Linked DNA regions of Homo sapiens: region 2 is linked to region 1. Evidence: promoter capture Hi-C in 16 types of primary human blood cells and fetal thymus (Javierre and others, 2016). All regions are on one chromosome and are shown on one strand. The core of a region is centred on a gene start or on the middle of the fragment in contact, and the rest is flanking DNA. Distances in the headings are between cores, read along the strand shown.

Evidence for each region. The method cuts DNA at HindIII sites, captures the fragments that hold promoters and counts their contacts. A CHiCAGO score of 5 or more calls a contact.
Region 2: a contact is called between the fragment with the promoter of MBNL3 here and the fragment with the promoter of FMR1-AS1 in region 1, in 1 of 17 cell types (monocytes). The highest score is 5.4, in monocytes.

Annotation. Positions count from the first base shown.
Region 1 is chrX:147,910,506-147,916,661 of GRCh38, forward strand. It overlaps FMR1-AS1 (FMR1 antisense RNA 1), which reads right to left and starts at 1,312. Exons shown (of 2, transcript NR_024503.3): 1 at 1,137-1,312; 2 at 1-490. FMR1 (fragile X messenger ribonucleoprotein 1) reads left to right here and starts at 1,414. Exons shown (of 17, transcript NM_002024.6): 1 at 1,414-1,725. The coding sequence starts at 1,675. RefSeq lists enhancers at 945-1,154, 1,735-1,834 and a silencer at 1,235-1,574. The HindIII fragment of the contact is 5,224 bases long and covers 1-3,820 here.
Region 2 is chrX:132,484,619-132,490,786 of GRCh38, forward strand. MBNL3 (muscleblind like splicing regulator 3) reads right to left here and starts at 4,420. Exons shown (of 9, transcript NM_001386889.1): 1 at 4,233-4,420. RefSeq lists a silencer at 4,699-5,268. The HindIII fragment of the contact is 7,236 bases long and covers 3,735-6,168 here.

The sequences.
Region 1 (6,156 bases), core at 62-2,561:
GACCCTAGTCCAAAAGGTCTTTCCTGTTTGCTATGGCCTTGAGGAATGTGGCCCTAGATCCACCGCTTTAAAGCTGGAGTTCCACCAGCAGCAACATCCTCTCATTCTGGGGCACCTGCCTGGGGCAGGTCATCCTGCCTCTGCCAACTCAGTGCTATTAGTTAACTCTCACCTGCCATATTCCAGCTGGAATCATCTCCCCTTCTCCACCCCAGACTAGGTCATGTTCCGCCATCATGGAAGCGCCTATTCTTCATACCCCTTATCACAGCTGCAACTACTCATTTACTTGTCTGACAATTTGATTTATGTCCACCTACTTTGCTAGGTACTAAGTTCAATGCTGGCAGTCGTTTCTTCTTTTTTTTTCTTTTCTGTTTTGCTCACCGATTTCTCGTTAGCACTTAGCACAGTGTCTGGCACACGATAGATGCTCCGTCAACTTCTCAGTTGGATACCAGCATCCCGAAGGGAACATGGATTAAGGCAGCTATAAGCACGGTGTAAAAACAGGAATAAGAAAAAGTTGAGGTTTGTTTCACAGTGGAATGTAAAGGGTTGCAAGGAGGTGCATCGGCCCCTGTGGACAGGACGCATGACTGCTACACACGTGTTCACCCCACCCTCTGGCACAGGGTGCACATACAGTAGGGGCAGAAATGAACCTCAAGTGCTTAACACAATTTTTAAAAAATATATAGTCAAGTGAAAGTATGAAAATGAGTTGAGGAAAGGCGAGTACGTGGGTCAAAGCTGGGTCTGAGGAAAGGCTCACATTTTGAGATCCCGACTCAATCCATGTCCCTTAAAGGGCACAGGGTGTCTCCACAGGGCCGCCCAAAATCTGGTGAGAGAGGGCGTAGACGCCTCACCTTCTGCCTCTACGGGTCACAAAAGCCTGGGTCACCCTGGTTGCCACTGTTCCTAGTTCAAAGTCTTCTTCTGTCTAATCCTTCACCCCTATTCTCGCCTTCCACTCCACCTCCCGCTCAGTCAGACTGCGCTACTTTGAACCGGACCAAACCAAACCAAACCAAACCAAACCAAACCAGACCAGACACCCCCTCCCGCGGAATCCCAGAGAGGCCGAACTGGGATAACCGGATGCATTTGATTTCCCACGCCACTGAGTGCACCTCTGCAGAAATGGGCGTTCTGGCCCTCGCGAGGCAGTGCGACCTGTCACCGCCCTTCAGCCTTCCCGCCCTCCACCAAGCCCGCGCACGCCCGGCCCGCGCGTCTGTCTTTCGACCCGGCACCCCGGCCGGTTCCCAGCAGCGCGCATGCGCGCGCTCCCAGGCCACTTGAAGAGAGAGGGCGGGGCCGAGGGGCTGAGCCCGCGGGGGGAGGGAACAGCGTTGATCACGTGACGTGGTTTCAGTGTTTACACCCGCAGCGGGCCGGGGGTTCGGCCTCAGTCAGGCGCTCAGCTCCGTTTCGGTTTCACTTCCGGTGGAGGGCCGCCTCTGAGCGGGCGGCGGGCCGACGGCGAGCGCGGGCGGCGGCGGTGACGGAGGCGCCGCTGCCAGGGGGCGTGCGGCAGCGCGGCGGCGGCGGCGGCGGCGGCGGCGGCGGAGGCGGCGGCGGCGGCGGCGGCGGCGGCGGCTGGGCCTCGAGCGCCCGCAGCCCACCTCTCGGGGGCGGGCTCCCGGCGCTAGCAGGGCTGAAGAGAAGATGGAGGAGCTGGTGGTGGAAGTGCGGGGCTCCAATGGCGCTTTCTACAAGGTACTTGGCTCTAGGGCAGGCCCCATCTTCGCCCTTCCTTCCCTCCCTTTTCTTCTTGGTGTCGGCGGGAGGCAGGCCCGGGGCCCTCTTCCCGAGCACCGCGCCTGGGTGCCAGGGCACGCTCGGCGGGATGTTGTTGGGAGGGAAGGACTGGACTTGGGGCCTGTTGGAAGCCCCTCTCCGACTCCGAGAGGCCCTAGCGCCTATCGAAATGAGAGACCAGCGAGGAGAGGGTTCTCTTTCGGCGCCGAGCCCCGCCGGGGTGAGCTGGGGATGGGCGAGGGCCGGCGGCAGGTACTAGAGCCGGGCGGGAAGGGCCGAAATCGGCGCTAAGTGACGGCGATGGCTTATTCCCCCTTTCCTAAACATCATCTCCCAGCGGGATCCGGGCCTGTCGTGTGGGTAGTTGTGGAGGAGCGGGGGGCGCTTCAGCCGGGCCGCCTCCTGCAGCGCCAAGAGGGCTTCAGGTCTCCTTTGGCTTCTCTTTTCCGGTCTAGCATTGGGACTTCGGAGAGCTCCACTGTTCTGGGCGAGGGCTGTGAAGAAAGAGTAGTAAGAAGCGGTAGTCGGCACCAAATCACAATGGCAACTGATTTTTAGTGGCTTCTCTTTGTGGATTTCGGAGGAGATTTTAGATCCAAAAGTTTCAGGAAGACCCTAACATGGCCCAGCAGTGCATTGAAGAAGTTGATCATCGTGAATATTCGCGTCCCCCTTTTTGTTAAACGGGGTAAATTCAGGAATGCACATGCTTCAGCGTCTAAAACCATTAGCAGCGCTGCTACTTAAAAATTGTGTGTGTGTGTTTAAGTTTCCAAAGACCTAAATATATGCCATGAAACTTCAGGTAATTAACTGAGAGTATATTATTACTAGGGCATTTTTTTTTTAACTGAGCGAAAATATTTTTGTGCCCCTAAGAACTTGACCACATTTCCTTTGAATTTGTGGTGTTGCAGTGGACTGAATTGTTGAGGCTTTATATAGGCATTCATGGGTTTACTGTGCTTTTTAAAGTTACACCATTGCAGATCAACTAACACCTTTCAGTTTTAAAAGGAAGATTTACAAATTTGATGTAGCAGTAGTGCGTTTGTTGGTATGTAGGTGCTGTATAAATTCATCTATAAATTCTCATTTCCTTTTGAATGTCTATAACCTCTTTCAATAATATCCCACCTTACTACAGTATTTTGGCAATAGAAGGTGCGTGTGGAAGGAAGGCTGGAAAATAGCTATTAGCAGTGTCCAACACAATTCTTAAATGTATTGTAGAATGGCTTGAATGTTTCAGACAGGACACGTTTGGCTATAGGAAAATAAACAATTGACTTTATTCTGTGTTTACCAATTTTATGAAGACATTTGGAGATCAGTATATTTCATAAATGAGTAAAGTATGTAAACTGTTCCATACTTTGAGCACAAAGATAAAGCCTTTTGCTGTAAAAGGAGGCAAAAGGTAACCCCGCGTTTATGTTCTTAACAGTCTCATGAATATGAAATTGTTTCAGTTGACTCTGCAGTCAAAATTTTAATTTCATTGATTTTATTGATCCATAATTTCTTCTGGTGAGTTTGCGTAGAATCGTTCACGGTCCTAGATTAGTGGTTTTGGTCACTAGATTTCTGGCACTAATAACTATAATACATATACATATATATGTGTGAGTAACGGCTAATGGTTAGGCAAGATTTTGATTGACCTGTGATATAAACTTAGATTGGATGCCACTAAAGTTTGCTTATCACAGAGGGCAAGTAGCACATTATGGCCTTGAAGTACTTATTGTTCTCTTCCAGCAACTTATGATTTGCTCCAGTGATTTTGCTTGCACACTGACTGGAATATAAGAAATGCCTTCTATTTTTGCTATTAATTCCCTCCTTTTTTGTTTTGTTTTGTAACGAAGTTGTTTAACTTGAAGGTGAATGAAGAATAGGTTGGTTGCCCCTTAGTTCCCTGAGGAGAAATGTTAATACTTGAACAAGTGTGTGTCAGACAAATTGCTGTTATGTTTATTTAATTAAGTTTGATTTCTAAGAAAATCTCAAATGGTCTGCACTGATGGAAGAACAGTTTCTGTAACAAAAAAGCTTGAAATTTTTATATGACTTATAATACTGCTGTGAGTTTTAAAAGTAAAGCAAAAGTAAACTGAGTTGCTTGTCCAGTGGGATGGACAGGAAAGATGTGAAATAAAAACCAATGAAAAATGAACTGCTGTGGAGAAGTGTTACATTTATGGAAAAAGAAATAGGAACCTTGTTCATCAAATTGATAGAAAAGCTTTTAAAACTAAACAAATCAAACAACTTGAGTATAATGGAATTCAGACTTTGATTTGCCTAACATAACCACCATATTTGCAAGGACAGCTCTCTATCTTCTGGTGTTTATTCTTAAAAACTTAAAAGTTAGATTTAGCGATCACCAGAGCCACTACTTTTATGCTTAGGTATTTGTTTGACTTAGAAAAAATTGGTCACGTGTACCACTTTATAGTGCCCTGCAGGTGTTAAGATATGAAGGCACTTTGACTTACACCTCATAAAATCTTTACAAAGTATTTTCTAAATGAATAATGATGAAATAAAGTCTTTATTCTAGGTGCATCTGCCCCACATAATTTGTTTTCTTTGGACTAGAAGTTTTGATGTGTTGAGAATGGTAATGAATTAACTCCATTTTAAATGTAGAATGCGTATCACTCCAATATGAATGCCCTAATGAATCCTAAGATTTGTAGGTTTTGTGTACTAGTATGAAAATTACTAAAGATGGAAAAATCACATGTTGGAGACATAAGATACAAACCTTTTTGTTTTCTGAAAATACAACCTCTGATTTCTGATTCCTTGTTGTAATATGGTGTAATTATACTAGATTGTAATTTTGTTGTTAGATTATACTTTTTTAAGTTCAGTGTTTGAGGACAGACTTTCATTTGGTTAGTAGTATTATGGCAGCTAGCAGCTAAATATGATAAAGTGTACAATCAAAAGGATATTTTTAATGAAGATATTAGTGGTCTAACATGTCATTTCAGATACATAGCTGAAATGTAGTAAAATCAGTTTTACTACAAATAAACTTGCATAAGGTTTATAAATTTATAAGTTTATAAATCAACTTGGGTAAAGTGTAAATAAACTTGCACTCGTGGTTTCTCTGAAGTCTCCTGAGCTAACTTTGCATAAAGGTGTTATTCTGTACTTCGAGGAAGTGAATTATTGGGGTCAACCACATTTTTTTTCCTTCCTACAGTCTGATTGCCCTTTTTAGTTTTTAGGATCTTTGTGGCTGCATCATTTTTCCCCTTTTGAACTGTGCATTTTCTAACCCCATACTTAAATATTCTCATAACCTCCAAATTATTAATTAGATGCAACATTCAGTGGTATATTACTGGAGTTTCTGATTTCTGCCCACTATAGGAATGTGCTTCCTGAGAAGATTGGGATCGTGATTATAATAATAGTTAACAGGGGATGAGTACTTTCTAGGTGCCAGGCACTGTTCTCTCTGATACTTTATTTGATGTATTGTTGTTATTCCCATTCTTTAAATGATGCACAGAGAGGTTAGGTAAGTGACTTACTACCAAGTGTCAGGGCCATTAAGGGTCAGGATTCTGAATTCCTGAAATGATGAAATTTAGCTTGAAGAAATTGGTTTGATTTCCTGCTTAGTTTTCAATTTCATGGTGGTCTTTGATTGTATTTTGTGCTATAACACTGCCTTAGCATCCTATAACTATAGTTACAGTGTTATATTACCATTTTTTATTGTTAATACAAAGCCATCATGAAATAATTCAGTTTATGTGCCAGCTTTTTTTGTTACTAATTCTTGAACCTTGGCGCTGTACTTCTTCATGTGGATGCCTGTTAAGGAAAGATAAAGTTAGAAATCTTTGACCCTGCTAGGAAATTTGTCTTTGTTATATTGGGAGCTCATAAAACTGAAGTATTCAAAAGTTAGAATACATACACACAAGAAAAATTAGTAACTAATTTAATAATGTTTTCTTTGCACATGTCTCTGTTGTCTTTTGGTCAGAGTGAAGCTAAATGTGTTTTTCACATAATTTGTAGCCTATATGAAGTCCTGGACATGTGGTATGGTTGGAAGGACTGTTGATGAGGTTTATTGTCTCTCTTTATTCTTTTATGTTGTTAGTGTCCCCATACAACGGGGCGGGGGGAGTGGGGACAAAATGATAACTTGCTTTATATATGAAGCCTTGGGTTTGAATCATACTGTTATCACATTTCCTATGTCCCTATCCTGTCTCCTGCAGGTTTTCTTTCTTGGTTTTCTTTTTTGGTTTTCTTTCTTCCTTTCTTCCTTTCTTTTCCTTTCTTTCCTTTCTTCCTTTTTTCTTTCCTTTTCTTTTTTCCTTTCTTTCCTTCATTTCTCTCCTTTGC
Region 2 (6,168 bases), core at 3,170-5,669, about 15 Mb before region 1:
GCTCCCATGGCTTAAAGAGATCAAATGACCTCTAGTCTCTACTGCCAACCCCCTGCATTTCTGTCCAGGTTGCCTTTTCTCTATGGGAGGCCCTTTATTTCTAAGCCCTTCAAGTTCACTCACTGTCTGGGCAAAAAACAAACTCCTGCCTCAAATCAGAAAACAAATAATTCCTTTTCCTCATGAGCCAACTTAATACTGATGCAAGTAAAACTTGAGAGTTGACATAATATTTTAGGAAGCATGTCAAACTGAGTCCTATGCTTGGGCTTCCTGAAAATCACCATACACATACAAAGGGAGAATACACACGCGCACACACACACACACACACACACACATTTAAATCAAGCCTCCTTTTATTCTTGCTTCCTCTTGAGTTCTGAGCAAAGCATCTTTTTATTTTTTATTTTTTTCTGAAAGTTAACTGCCTGGAGTTGAACATTCAAAGCCCTGGTTCTTTTCCTGAGCCTCAGAGTGACATCACTATATCAAATATTTATAATAGTTTACAGTGAACTTTTTTATTTCATTCTTAGAATTGGAGGAATACTGTAAAAATATTTTCCTATAATCTTCCAGTGAGAAAGCAATGCACATCTGTATACATTGTTTTGAATTGACCACTAATTTGTACACTCATGTACGTGTGTGTTTGTGTGCCCAGGCAATTTGGAAGTCCCATTATTTCTCAAATAAAAATGATAAGGTCCTACTTCCCAGATTGTATTGTTTTCTCCATCAATCTTTTAAAAACAATGTCACTCAATCTAATACCAAGCAGATCTAAATGATGAGTTAATAATGCATTTTTACTACAATGATCTGAAAAAATATTTTCTTATCCCTTTCAGGTCATGTGGATGTTATTAACATCCATTAAGACAACTGATACCTTATTTATCCTAATTCTCAAAGTTGCCTTTCCAACACTGTCATTTGGCTATCTTGAGGCAATAGATAACCATTTAGGAAGAACAGAATGTCATGGAACCATCTGGTATCCTTAAGACCTAAAAGCCCACATTATGAAAGATCTAATTGCTTTCTTTCAGTTATAATTTATGTTTGTTTGCTGGTTGGTTAATTGACAATTAAACAACTTGCTCCCAGACACAGTTTCTTCTCTTTCAGGAAAAGTGTCCATCTCATTTTAGCTGAGGCTCGGGTTTCTTTCTATATTTGAAGTGAGAGCTATATCACACCTAGAGAAAGGCAGAAAAATCCCACAAACACAACTTCTGATTTCTATTTTCTTGATATCACATACATTTGAATGAGGAAAAATCCATCTGTTTTGCCTAGTAGACAATGTCATAAGAAAACTCACCAGCATGGAAGAACCTTGATGAAGTAAAGGTGAGTGTAGCCTTCATGCTCTTACAGACACTTGATAATGTTAACATGGCAGTGACCATTATCTAACTTTAATTACAGGATGAAATTACTTGTCAAAAATGTACTATAACTTATGTACTGTCAGCTATGCCCCAATCCCTGTTTGTAAGCCTATCAGGCAACATTATTTATTTGAAAACAGAAAAATTCTGCCACCTTCCTGAATTTATTGTACTATAAGCAGAATAAAAGTAAAATGTTATCAATAGAAATCTTCATCATTTTAGAGCTTCTCACTCCATTCCCTCCCCTCGTCCCTCACACATAAAGGCAGCTGGGTGGAGAACAAAACTGTACTAAACTATACTGTCAACATCTGCACAACAGTCAAGAGACTGTCACTGTTCCAGCATGTGTGGTACTATACAATCACTCAAAAGACAAAACCTTTTTTATTCCCAAGCTGCTGTGATACTGGGAAGTATCACAGTGAAGCTGGAGAGATAATAATACACCTACTGGTCAAAAGCATGAAGTATACAAGTGCCTGGAAGTACAATGAGAGGCAAGAGAACCCTTTAGAAGCAAATACAATGCAGACAACTAGGGGAATGTACATTCTACTCTTCTTTGAATGTTTAGGTTCTTGTGAGTGCATAAAAATGCCTTCCGTTTAAATTAAAAGCTGTACCCAAAATCTATTCCACTGTGAGTTTATAAGCTATTCTTCTTTTTAATGTAACATTTATTAAGCACCTAGTTTGTGCAAAGCATTATCTAGGTAGAGGGTGGTGCAAGAGAATACCAAAGGTCCTTTGCTACCAGCTCATAATCATAAAAAGCAGCTGTTGTGAAATGCCTGAAGTGGACAGTTGAGGAAAAAAAAGGTACTTTATAATAGTCCTGGGAGTCATTACGATTGCTTAAAGTAGCAAAGGAAATTAGAGAAATGAAGTAGCTCTTAGAAGTAGAGCAAAACATGCAGTCACCACCTCTAGCCCAGCACTATATCAATTATCTCTCAAAACATTTTTTTTTTACAAACTCCTTCACTTATGTTTTCATATAAGGTCTCCAATCTCATCACTGTATGAGGCAGCAGAATGTTAACTGGCAAAATTTCCTAATTTCTCTGACACCAGTTTAGCTTGTCTATTCTGGCCTCAAGGTTTAGTATTTTCACTTTTCTTTCTTTCTTTTTTTCTTTTTTTTTAAGGATGCATTTGGTCCGAAGTCTTTTAGCAGCAAGGTAGCACATCCGGAAGCAAACAGTACTGAACTGGGATCTAAGTCCATAATCACTAAAAATGGGAGAAGTTGCTTTTTCTCATCCTCCCTTTACCAAAATGCAAGTGTTTATTGCTCTACCTGCAGGAACTCTCATTTTAGACATGAAGCAATGAATTGCCCCACATACTTCTTTCAAGAATAATATGAAAAACTGCTGAAAATTTGTTGTATAGTAATTCCATTGTAAACAGTTTGGTTGTTTGTTTCTAGGTAGACTACAGCACCTGGGCAGAAAACTGCACCATGCTTTAATAAGGGCAAAACAATATTTTTCTCCCTTTCCACACACTTGCTAAATTTAGTAGCAGAGCGTCTGCCAACCAAGTAGTTTCTACTGCTTTGGGAGAAGGAGTGAACAGCGATAGAATATTATCAGCTGAGCTGTGGGCAGAAGCCCATTTTAGTCTATATTTGAAGAAGTGTTGGTAAATATGAAAGCATCCCCCAAAAGTATCGCACATTAGAAAAAAGTTAAAAATTATTTTAAAAAGTAGTTAAACATTCAGGATTAGATTTTCATGGGCCAAGGAGAAGATGGAAATATAATCAGGAAAAATCCAAGGTGTCTGATAAGCCTCATTGTCTATTTACCTTTCACTGGAGGGGGAAACAAAACAAAACAAAATTCAGATAAATTGTATCAAGCATGGATGTTTAGTCATTCCCACATACCAACAATCTGTTTTCCAAACATTATATCAGTAATCACCCAAACGTTTATTCACTAAAGCAGGGAGTCCGCTTAATAAAAAAAGTACCAATCACTTCAAAATTAAATCTTGCAAGTTTTGTTTTAATTGATTCTTTCCCATGAAGTCTACCCACAAATACGGAGAGGCTGTGGGGATCCCAGCTCAATTTACAAACGATGTAAGAACATCTAGGAGAAAATAACTCCTTTAAAACATATTACTTTAATTAGAGCCACAATTAATTTATCTGTTTTATCTATCATCTAGCTAGCTAGCTAGCTAGCTAGCTATCTAAGAGTGCTCAGAAAAACACACAGTAGGTCTATTACCCTAATTATGAAACCACAACAAAGAATCACTTAAATGTCAACTTTCATTACTCGTCTGGGTTTAATTTCGTTTTCTTACCATAAAAGCTTATTGTGTGAGTGTTAAAAACTAAAGTTCCCTTTTTAATAGTCTCCTAAAATCTACTCTCATGCCCTTCAAACCCCAGTAGTAAAAGCGAGCTGCCCAAACGTGTTGACTCAGGGCAGGAAGAGACAAGGTTCTGCAAGGAAGCTGTGGCACTGCTCACGATATCGCGTGAAAATGGGGAAATTCGTTGTTAAAAAGCATTTGCTGATTATATGCCATGCAAGAAGTTCCTTTAAATTAAAAAGAAGAAAGTAGAAAAAAAGAAAGAAGGAAGGAAGGGGAGGAGGAAGAGAAGAGGAGGAAGAGAAGGAAGAAGAAAAAGGAGGAGGAGGAAAGGAGGAGGAAAATGATCAAAGCTCTAAAATCGCAACAAAGTTGCAGGATGACTTTTCCTCCTATTTGCTATTTTGTAAAATGAAGTTTAAAAGGCATTATTTCCTCGGCGTCCGAGGAAGGCAGCCTCTCTTACAAATCCCAATTCATCTCCAGCCTTACCTTACGCTGCTAGCGCAAACCCAGAGGCTAAGGGGCCCTGCTCTCAGCGGCAGCAGCAGGGGCAGCGGCAGCGACAGCGGCACATGCCATCTGTTAGCGGCAGAAGCAAAAGCAGCGCTGCGCGAGGTGGCCCCGGTGCCGGGAGAGCCTTTAGCAGGGGTGCATACTGAATGCCGCCATTTTAAAGCGAGGTTCCTGAAATCATTAGATATAAGCAAATTAAAGCCCGCCCCACCTCCAGAACTTCAGGGCTGGGACTTGCAACCCGGCTCCAAGTCGGCCGCTCTGGGGTATAAAATGTCAAGTCTACAGACACGCGCACGCTGACTCTCGGACGGAGGCGACGGTTCCCCCTCTCCCTTCGGCCCCCTTGACCCCTTCGTGCTTTTTGCAAGACTCCTTTCGGTTCCAGGGGCCAGAATACTTTCTTTTCTGGGCTCCTCGAGGCCCCTTCCCGGGGCCGGCCGGCGGGCTGTGGGAGGAGGGGACAAGGCCACGGGCCGGCCCTACCCGCTCCTCCCAGGCTCTTGGTTCAGTCCACTCGGAGCACACCTCGGAGCGCCCCAGCTCCCTCGCGGAGGCCGGGCGTGGGGCTCCCGCCCGGGCTCGCAGCTACCATAGCAACCCCGGTCCCAACCCCGCCCGGCCTTTGCCAAAGGCGTGCCCTCCTCCCGGGCCAGTGCCCTCCGCCGGACGCCAGACGTCCCCTCGCGCAGCCCCGCCGACCCCAGGCAGCCCGGGCTGGGGCCGCGCCTCCGTGCGTCCCGCGCCGGACAGACGCGGCACGCGGAGGGAAACGGCGCCAGCGAGGGGCTTTAGGCGCCAAAACGGAAACTCCCGCGAAACTCCGCGGGCCAGCGGAGCGCGGGCGGGCATCCGGAGCGCCGGACTCGGAAGCGGCGCACGCGGCCGCCCGGCCCCGCCCCGCCCGGCCAGGTAGCGCGGCGCCGCCGCCAACCTCACCTGGCTCCGCGCGCCGCTGCGGGACGGGCGGGAATGCGGCCAAGGGCCGCCCCGGCTCCCGCGCCCACCCCGGACTCTCTGGCCTCCGCCTCTCTCTCACTGCTCCCAAAGAGCGCCAAAAAGTCGCGCTGCGGCTCACGCTCGGAGTGCGGGCACTTTCTTCCTGTAGGGCGCTGTTTCGTCGCGAAATATATTCTTTGTGTGGTTCGCTCACTCGTGCCTGGTTCTCCGAGAGCGCAGCGCGGGCTTTATTCTCAGGGGGTGTGGCGCCTCGCCCCCAAACCCAGCAGCCCAGCCCCCGCTGCACAGACCCTTTGTCATTTCATTAGGAAGGGAAAGGGGGACAAATCATAACGCTCAGATTTTACAAAAGCGAAAACAAACGAAGCAGGCACACATCCCCAGAGGCGGGGTTGGGGTAGGGGTGCAAAGTTTCTGGCTCTTCAGGAACTGAAGTGCCAGTGAGAAAGGCAGTGTGGTTCACAGCGGGACGCTCATAGACACTTCCCAGACAGGTGAGGCGAAATGGGTCCTTTCAAAATTGATCTTAGTCGATGAATAAGTCCACTCGCTACAGGCTAAATAAATACATTCATACTCACCAGCTGCCTTCTTGGGGGTTTTATCTTTCATAAATGCCCCAATCGTTTATTTCCCTCTAAGAATTTCAGACAGGGAAATGCTGATCAGTGCAATCTGTTCCCCTTCTTCCACGGAGTTTGCAGGATAAGAGGAACCCTGAGGTAAGGTTCCAGATACTTTGGAAAATGGACAAAGCAAATGCAATTTTATATCTTGATTAAAAAGTGTGCATCTGCACAGGGAAATTACAAGTTTCGATTTAATGCAAGTGTAATAGGAGCACCAGCTGTCCCTTAATTGGAGCCCCACAATAATAAATGCGTGCTTTTATTTAATTTTACGAAGACAATTGTAGTTGATAACGCACACATATGCAGGATCGTCAGTGACA